2 separate regions of the Homo sapiens genome follow, and region 1 is linked to region 2. Evidence: promoter capture Hi-C in human tissues and cell types (Jung and others, 2019). All regions are on one chromosome and are shown on one strand. The core of a region is centred on a gene start or on the middle of the fragment in contact, and the rest is flanking DNA. Distances in the headings are between cores, read along the strand shown.

Region 1 (4,543 bases), core at 1,197-3,696, 610 kb after region 2:
GCACAAACTTCTTCGCTGACAAAGCAAGCACAGCTTTCAGGCCTTGCTCCTCCTCGTCAGCCCACATTGTTGGCCACAGCTCCATTGTTCCTCTGTGCAGCAGTTCCCATTTGCTCCTTGGATTCTGCTCAAGAGAGTTCATGCCCAGTTGAAATTATTACAAAGTTCAGTTGGAAGCTTGTTTCACCCTGTGACCCCTCCCAAATTCCACTGGCTGCCTTCCCTGACGGCCCCTGTGAGATAGAGCCAGGGATGGCTTCCCTGGGCTCGAGCTGGAGACTGGAGTGCCTATAAGACTCTTCCCGCTGCTGCTTCTACTTTTATATTTCACACTAAATCCATTTCAGCTCCAGGTAAGGTTAAATCCTTCTCCCGTAATCTGGATTTTCAGGTTCCCCAGTGGGGGTGTGTGTTCAGAGGCAGATTTTTCCCTTCTCACACTTTGGAAACTCACAGTTTTTCATCTGTCTTGTGGAATTTTCAGTGGTGTGCTGCTTCTTTCAAAGGATGTGTGAACTCTTTCGGTTTTCCTGGTACGTTCCTGTGGTGGTTCTTGGAGCAAAAGTCCATGGTGTGAGTCTCTTCATGCCGTTCTGTCCATCCAAATGGGAGCTACATGTTAGCCCTTTCTCCTATCCTCTATCTTCTTGAAAATCCCCCTCTTGTATAGGTCTTAAATTGGAAATTGTACCTCTGTCTCAAGCTCTTTATCTCTATATCTCTTGACACACACACTGTCACACACACAAGTATTTGACACATCTGCCAGGTGTTTATTAGCACTTTATGTACATTCAGTCCTCAGATTGACTCTAGGAGATGATATGAAGGATTTGAGGATTGTGGTTGCCTCCCTAGTATCCATTCTGCCCCTCTCCTATTGCAGTTTGTTCTAATTCCCAGATCCCATTTCTCTTGCCAACAGGTGAACAAAGATGACCCAATTAAAGGGAGGTCCAGGATTTTTGTTAGATGGTTAGGGAAGACACTCCTGTTTATTGAATATGAATGGGGAAATATGAAAGTCCAGAAGCTTCTGGCAGCCACCTTTTCCATCACAGTACAGCCAGCCTTGGGGTGTGTGGATGTTCCCAAGAGCAGAGCAGACAATGGAAAGAGGCTGGGTATTTAGTGAGATTGCTGAGCCACTGAAGATTTCCCTACTATTGGGCTTTTCAGTTTTATGAGACATTAAATTCCCTTATTCATTTGGGTCTTGCGTTCTATTACCAAAGGCATATTAACTGAAACATGTAAACATTTTCTGCATTTTACTGGTGAAACCAAATCTCAGAAAGCCTGGGAATGGCTAGATACACTGATCCTTTAGAAAATGTCCAAGGCACAGTTAGGACCAAACGGGGATTGGAACCCAGGATATCTGACTCTAACCTCCATGCATGTAACAGCTACATTATTTTTTCTCTTCAAGAAAACTACTGGAGGGTGGTTCCAAGATGGCCAAATAGGAACAGCTCCAGTCTACAGCTCCCAGCATGAGTGATGCAGAAGACGAATGATTTCTGCATTTCCAACTCAGGTACTGGGTTCATCTTATTGGGGATTGTCAGACAGTGGGTGCAGGACAGTGGGTGCAGCGCACCGAGCGTGAGCCGAAGTAGGGCAAGGCATCACCTCACCCAGGAAGCGCAAGGGGTCAGGGAATTCCCTTTCCTAGCCAAGGAAAGGGGTGACAGATGGCACCTGGAAAATCGGGTCACTCCCACCCTAATACTGCGCTTTTCTGATGGTCATAGCAAATGGCACACCAGGAGATTATATCCCGTGCCTGGCTCGGAGGGTCCTACGCCCACGGACCCTTGCTCATTGCTAGCACAGCAGTCTGAGATCAAATTGAAAGGCAGCAGCCAGGCTGGGGGAGGGGCATCTGCCATTGCTGAGGCGTGAGTAGGTAAACAAACCTGCCGGGAAGCTCAAACTGGGTGGAGCCCACCGCATCTCAAGGAGGCCTGCCTGCCTCTGTAGACTCCACCTCTGGGGGCAGGGCATAGCCAAACAAAAGGCAGCAGAAACCTCTGCAGACTTAAATGTCCCTGCCTGACAGCTTGGAAGACAGCAGTGGTTCTCCCAGCATGCAGCTGGAGATCTGAGAATGGACAGAGTGCCTCCTCAAGTGGGTCCCTGACCCCTGGGTAGCCTAACTGGGAGGCATCCCCCAGTAGGGGCAGACTGACACCTCACACGGCCGGGTACTCCTCTGAGACAAAACTTCCAGAGGAACGATCAGGCAGCAGCATTTGCTGTTCACCAATATTCGCTGTTCTGCAGCCTCAACTGCTGATATCCAGGCAAACAGGGTCTGGAGTGGACCTCCGGCAAACTCCAACAGACCTGCAGCTGAGGGTCCTGTCTGTTAGAAGGAAAACTAACAAACAGAAAGGACATCCACCCCAAAAACCCATCTGTACGTCACCATCATCGAAGAACAAAGGTAGATAAAACCACAAAGATGGGAAAAAAACAGAGCAGAAAAACTGGAAACTCTAAAAATCAGAGCGCCTCTCCTCCTCCAAAGGAATGCAACTCTTCACCAGCAACGGAACAAAGCTGGACGGAGAATGACTTTGACGAGTTGAGAAAAGAAGGCTTCAGATGATCAAACTACTCCGAGCTACAGGAGGAAATTCGAACCAATGGCAAAGAAGTTAAAAGCTTTGAAAAAAAATTAGACAAATGGATAACTAGAATAACCAATGCAGAGAAGTCCTTAAATGACCTGATGGAGCTGAAAACCAAGGCACGAGAGCTATTTGACAAATGCAGAAGCCTCAGTAGCCAATTCGATCAACTGGAAGAAAGGTTATCAGTGATGGAAGACGAAATGAATGAAGTGAAGTGAGAAGAGAAGTTTAGAGAAAAAAGAATAAAAAGAAACGAGCAAAGCCTCCAAGAAATATGGGACTATGTGAAAAGACCAAATCTACATTTGATTAGTGTACCTGAAAGTGACTGGGAGAATGGAACCAGGTTGGAAAACACTCTGAAGGATATTATCCAGGAGAACTTCCCCAATCTAGCAAGGCAGGCCAACATTCAAATTCAGGAAATACAGAGAATGCCACAAAGAAGCTCCTCGAGAAGAGCAACTCCAAGACACATAATTGTCAGATTCACCAAAGTTGAAATGAAGGAAAAAATGTTAAGGGCAGCCAGAGAGAAAGGTCGGGTTACCCACAAAGGGAAGCCCATCAGACTAACAGCTGATCTCTCAGCAGAAACTCTACAAGCCAGAAGAGAGTGGGGACCAATATTCAACATTCTTAAAGAAAAGAATTTTCAACCCAGAATTTCATATCCAGCCAAACTAAGCTTCATAAGTGAAGGAGAAATAAAATCCTTTACAGACAAGCAAATGCTGAGAGATTTTGTCACCACCAGGCCTACCCTAAAAGAGCTCATGAAGGAAGCACTAAACATGGAAAGGAATAACCGGTACCAGCCACTGCAAAAACATGCCAAATTGTAAAGACCATCGAGGCTAGGAAGAGACTGCATCAACTAATGAGCAAAATAACCAGCTAACATCATAATGACAGGATCAAATTCACACATAATAACAATATTAACTTTAAATGTAAATGGGCTAAATGCTCCAATTAAAAGACACAGACTGGCAAATTGGATAAAGAGTCAAGACCCATCAGTGTGCTGTATTCAGGAGACCCATCTCACGTGCACAGACACACATAGGCTCAAAATAAAAGGATGGAGGAAGATCTACCAAGCAAATGGAAAACAAAAAAAGGCAGGGGTTGCAATCCTAGACTCTGATAAAACAGACTTTAAACCAACAAAGATCAAAAGAGACAAAGAAGGCCATTACATAATGGTAAAGGGATCAATTCAACAAGAAGAGCTAACTATCCTAAATATATATGCACCCAATACAGGAGCACCCAGATTCATAAAGCAAGTCCTTAGTGACCTAAGGACTAAGGACCTAAGGATAATAAGTGATTATTATCACACAATAATAATGGGAGACTTTAACACCCCACTGTCAACATTAGACAGGTCAACGAGACAGAAAGTTAACAGGGATATCCAGGAATTGAACTCAGCTCTGCACCAAGCAGACCTAATAGACATCTACAGAACTCTCCACCCCAAATCAACAGAATATACATTCTTTTCAGCACCACACCACACCTACTCCAAAACTGACCACATAGTTGTAAGTAAAGCACTCCTCAGCAAATGTAAAAGAACAGAAATTATAGCAAACTGTCTCTCAGACCACAGTGCAATCAAACTAGAACTCAGGATTAAGAAACTCACTCAAAACCGCTCAACTACATGGTAACTGAACAACCTGCTCCTGAATGACTACTGGGTAAATAATGAAGTGAAGGCATAAATAAAGATATTCTTTGAAACCAACGAGAACAAAGACACAACATACCAGAATCTCTGGGACGCATTCAAAGCAGTGTGTAGAGGGAAATTTATAGCACTAAATCCCCACAAGAGAAAGCAGAAAAGATCTAAAATTGACACCCTAACATCACAAGTAAAAGAACTA
Region 2 (4,525 bases), core at 856-3,355:
GCGTGGTGGTGTGCGCCTGTAATCCCAGCTGTTCGGGAGGCTGAGGCAGGAGAATCACTTGAACCCGGGAGGTGGAGGTTGCAGTGAGCCGAGATCGCGCCACTGCACTCCAGCCTGGCGACAGAGCAAGACTCCAACTCAAAAAAAAAAAAAAAAAAAAAAAAAAAAAAGAAAAATAGAATGGAATATTCACACAATACCCATGAGAATTGTTCCTAATAAATTTGAAGGCATCCTTTATGTGACTTTGGGTCATTAATTTACAAAAATTTGTACTTTATTTGTATATTTAGGATGTATATATTTAAACTCAAACATTCATGGCCATTGGATAAGGTGAGACCAAATGGAATCTATTTGGAGAATTTTACTCATGTTTTTTGGACAACAATTAATTGTCCCCAGGAACAATGATAGCAAGAGGTATAGCAATGAGGACCTGTAATGCAAAAATTGGAGTCATTACTACCCTTAAAATAAATATCTATTCAAAAGAACACTATTGAGTACATGCCATGTGGCAGATGTTGTGTTTAGGCACATTATCCTATTTAATACTCATGACAACCCCATTAGATAAGTGCAATTATTATGATCATTTTACAGAGATATTGAGGGAGTATGTAATTTTCCCCAAATCACAAAAATCTGAAAGTTGGCCAGGCGTCGTGGCTCACGCCTGTAATCCCAACACTTTGGGAGGCTGAGGCGGGCGGATCACTTGAGGTCAGTAGTTGGAGACCAGCCTGGCCAACATGGTGAAACCCCATTCCTACTGAAAATACAAAAATGAGCCGGGCGTGGTGGCGGGCGCCTGTAATCCCAGCTTCTCAGGAGGGTGAGGCACGACAATCGCTTGAACCCGGGAGGCAGAGGTTGCAGTGAGCCAAGATCGCACCACTACACTGCAGCCTGGGTGACAGAGTGAGACACAGACTCAAAAAAAAAAAAAAAAAAAAAAAAATCTGGCCGGGCGCAGTGCCTCACACCTGTAATCCTAGCACTTTGGGAGGCTGAGGAGGGTGGATCACCTGAAGTCAGCAGTTCGAGACCAGCATGGCCAACATGGCGAAACCCCGTCTCTACTAAAAATACAAAAATTAGCCGGTTGTGGTGGCGCACACCTGTAATGCCAGCTACTCCGGAGGCTGAGGAAGGAGAATTGCTTGAACCCGGGAGGTGGAGGTTGCAGTGAGCTGAGATCGCGTCACCGCTCCAGCCTGTGCGGCAGGAGCAAGACTCCATCTCAAAAGTAAATAAATAAATACATAAATCTGAAGGTTCTATCAGACTTCAAAGTTCCTGCCTCAGCCTACTTCAGCATCTTTATCTTGTACCCCACATCTCTACAACCCACCCCCTACTGGTCTCATTGGCCTCCTTTCTGTTCCTGGAAGTGAGTCAAGCTTTCTACCCACAACCCCCACCCCACTCCACTCCAGGACTTGCACTGTTTGTTTAGGTTTTCTTCAGTTGTTGCAAGGCTGGCTCCTTCTCATCTCAGATATCTGTTCTAGATTAATTCTTCCCACCATACTTCTCACCGTGTTTTAATTCCTTCACAGTATTTGTTAAACTCTGAAGTTTTTTTTATTATTATTTCCTATCAAATGATAAGCAGATCTACCTTTAATACCTCATTCACTGACTGAATGGATGAATAAAACTGTCTACTTCTCCAGCACGTGGAGGTCTTGGACAGTACTGTGTTATAACAAAGGCCATCTGTGTTGTGTCGACAGGCCATCGGAACTCCTTTGAGGTATTACACATTTCCTACTTCACTTCCATCTCAGTTTATTACAGAGCCTTTTATACTTCCGGGACAGCAGTGACTTAATACTGAGGCCTCTCAGGGGAAGACCGGGATAACTGAGTCCTGCTTTACCTATCTCGGCTTGCAAGAAACGGTATAGGTGGAGGCCTCTTTCAGTGTATGCCGGCGCTCTAGGTGAACCGAGACATAGAGGTGGAAGTGGAGTAGAAAGACGGGGCCAACCGGAAGGGGAGGGCTCATGGGCGAACCCACCCCTCCAGGCAGGGTTTCGCCCCTCGCCCCGCCCCTTCCCCCGCCCGGACGGCCATGGCCATTCCCGGCATCCCCTATGAGAGACGGCTTCTCATCATGGCGGACCCTAGAGATAAGGCGCTTCAGGACTACCGCAAGAAGTTGCTTGAACACAAGGAGATCGACGGCCGTCTTAAGGAGTGTGAGTGCACCTTTCTTTCCATTTAATCAAGTGCCTCGACTCGCTTCTGCCTCTGACAAAGCAGAAGCCTTTCGCCGAGCCCGGCAACCGAGCCTTAGAGATGACCAGGCCTAGGGCCAGGGACAAGGCGCTTTGTCATCCGGCCCTGAGCTTGTGGAGCAGCACTCCTTCGGGTGTAGAAATGGCCCAGTCCAGCCCGGGTGACAGAACATCGGCGGCCTTGAGGTGAAAATGAAAAAGAAGTAGAGGAGGAGTGGGGAAGTGGGCCGAGGATGTTTCCCAGGTTAGGGTGCAAGAAGGGCAGTCTTGGTGGAGTCCCGGGACTTGGAGAGGGGAAGGCGCTTGAGTCAAGTAAGCTCAAACAAGAGATGAGACTCAGGGAGTCGGCTTGTTCTTGGAGTCGAAAGACGGCCGCGGAGCTTAAGAGAGAAGTGTTCCAGTTGTCATAATAACCCATATCGTCTTGTGTTTCGTGTTGTACTGTATCAGGCATACAAATTTCCCTTACCTCCTGAGTGCTTAACTTTTTTTTCCAGTGCATTTTCATTGAAAAGCATGAGTAGTTTAATTAAATGGAGGACCATAATTACATGATTCTGTGGAGAACTGCATTTGTTGACTTTATTTAGGGTAGAATGTCAGAGAACAATCCACGTGGGTAGGTGAAGAGGTGAGGAAGGGTCTAAGTGATTATCATTCGGATTTGTAGTCGCAAATCCTAAGTGTCAGGGTGTCAATATCTTCTAAGACTATAACTTAAGATGTGCTTAAACAAGTATTGCCGATCAACAAAGTAAAAGTATGGTGCTTTCTCTGTAACATTTTGTTGTTATACATGCCACCTACTCATTACAAACAGCATTATTTCTTTTATGGTTTGAAACAGTGGATGTGAAACTTAGGTAAAGTGAAGTAGACTTACGTAAACAGTAAAGTGAGACGTAGCGACTTAAACACACTAAGATTACTGTTCAATTAAAAATGTTCAAATTGTATTATTTCAGTAAGGGAACAATTAAAAGAACTTACCAAGCAGTATGAAAAGTCTGAAAATGATCTGAAGGCCCTACAGAGTGTTGGGCAGGTAGGTGATGGAGTTTGGGGAATAGGGGGTGATGGTAATTTGCTTTTTTATTTAGCTGTTGCCAAAAAGTAATGCTTTTTATTTTCTTCCTTAGATCGTGGGTGAAGTGCTTAAACAGTTAACTGAAGAAAAATGTGAGTGATGAATTAGCTTATTAATTAGTAAAGAAACAGTCCACCTCTCTCTCACTTTTGAAATGCTTATTATTTTAATGACAATAATGCAGAGAGAGAGAGTATTTTTGAATAGACTTAAGTTTTCCTTCAACTAATGTCTCCTTGGAGGACAGAAATACAACTAAACCCTCTGTCAACGTGGGTATGTATTTTTTTACTTTCTATTTTTCAATTAGTTCTTTTATGTTTTTTCTTCTAGTCATTGTTAAAGCTACCAATGGACCAAGATATGTTGTGGGTTGTCGTCGACAGGTAATACTTTATATTTGTATAGTGCCTGATGATTGACAAAGCAGTTTCATGTAAGTTATTGTCTCTAATTCTTGAGGCAAGCAGGTGGAGCATTTATGCCCATAACTCACAAGGATGATTTGTTCAGACATAGCTAGTTATTAACAAAGCCTGAATTCAAACCATGGGCTTTGACTCCTGGCATTCCGTACTTTCTACTGTATTACATTGTCTCAGTCAGATCTGTTAATAGCCACTTAGAAATAAAAGTATTTTAGAACTGGAAAACAGACATTTTATTTTAATGTCATTTTTAAAGAGGACTTAAAAGTGTTAGATATCATCAGTTACCTGTGTTTATATTTAGACATTCAGAACTGTTACTTATGGACTGTACCATGGCCTAAGTTAATTTTGTATGAGGTCATTTAGATTAGGGTAGGGCAAGTTGAAATAATTCTAAATTTTATTTTACAGTTATCAAAGATGCCAACAAATGACCTCAAGTCATTCAGTAGTGTCTGAAATCAATTTATGTATTATTCTTTAGGAAGTGTCCTTAGATAATTCTTTTAAATTCATTGGAAGAGTTTTCTCTGTTTAATTGTCATTTCAGGTTCAGGTTTTAAAACATTCACAGAACATGGCTGTAAGGGAGAATTTAATCCAGGAACTATAAATCTCCTATTAGGATTTTGCCTAGTATATAAGCGGTTGACATTTTCTAAGTCAAAATATTAGATACCTAAACTGACAAGGGATTTTCATGTCCCTTTCAGGGCTCTGTGGATGCCGAAAGTTGGCATTTCTAAGATATTTCAGGT

What was found. Contacts are between HindIII fragments. The study calls those that stand out against the background at their distance.
Region 1: a fragment that was not itself captured here is called in contact with the fragment with the promoter of PSMC6 in region 2 in 1 of the 25 tissues and cell types used here (mesenchymal stem cells).

The regions. Positions count from the first base shown.
Region 1 is chr14:53,316,599-53,321,141 of GRCh38, forward strand. It overlaps LOC105370504 (a long non-coding RNA gene), which reads left to right and starts at 4,054. Exons shown (of 4, transcript XR_943876.3): 1 at 4,054-4,543. The HindIII fragment of the contact is 3,682 bases long and covers 606-4,287 here.
Region 2 is chr14:52,705,095-52,709,619 of GRCh38, forward strand. PSMC6 (proteasome 26S subunit, ATPase 6) reads left to right here and starts at 2,106. Exons shown (of 14, transcript NM_002806.5): 1 at 2,106-2,210; 2 at 3,215-3,294; 3 at 3,389-3,428; 4 at 3,670-3,722. The coding sequence starts at 2,126. RefSeq lists enhancers at 1,657-1,766, 1,787-1,846, 2,147-2,396, 2,417-2,466. The HindIII fragment of the contact is 7,628 bases long and covers 1-4,525 here.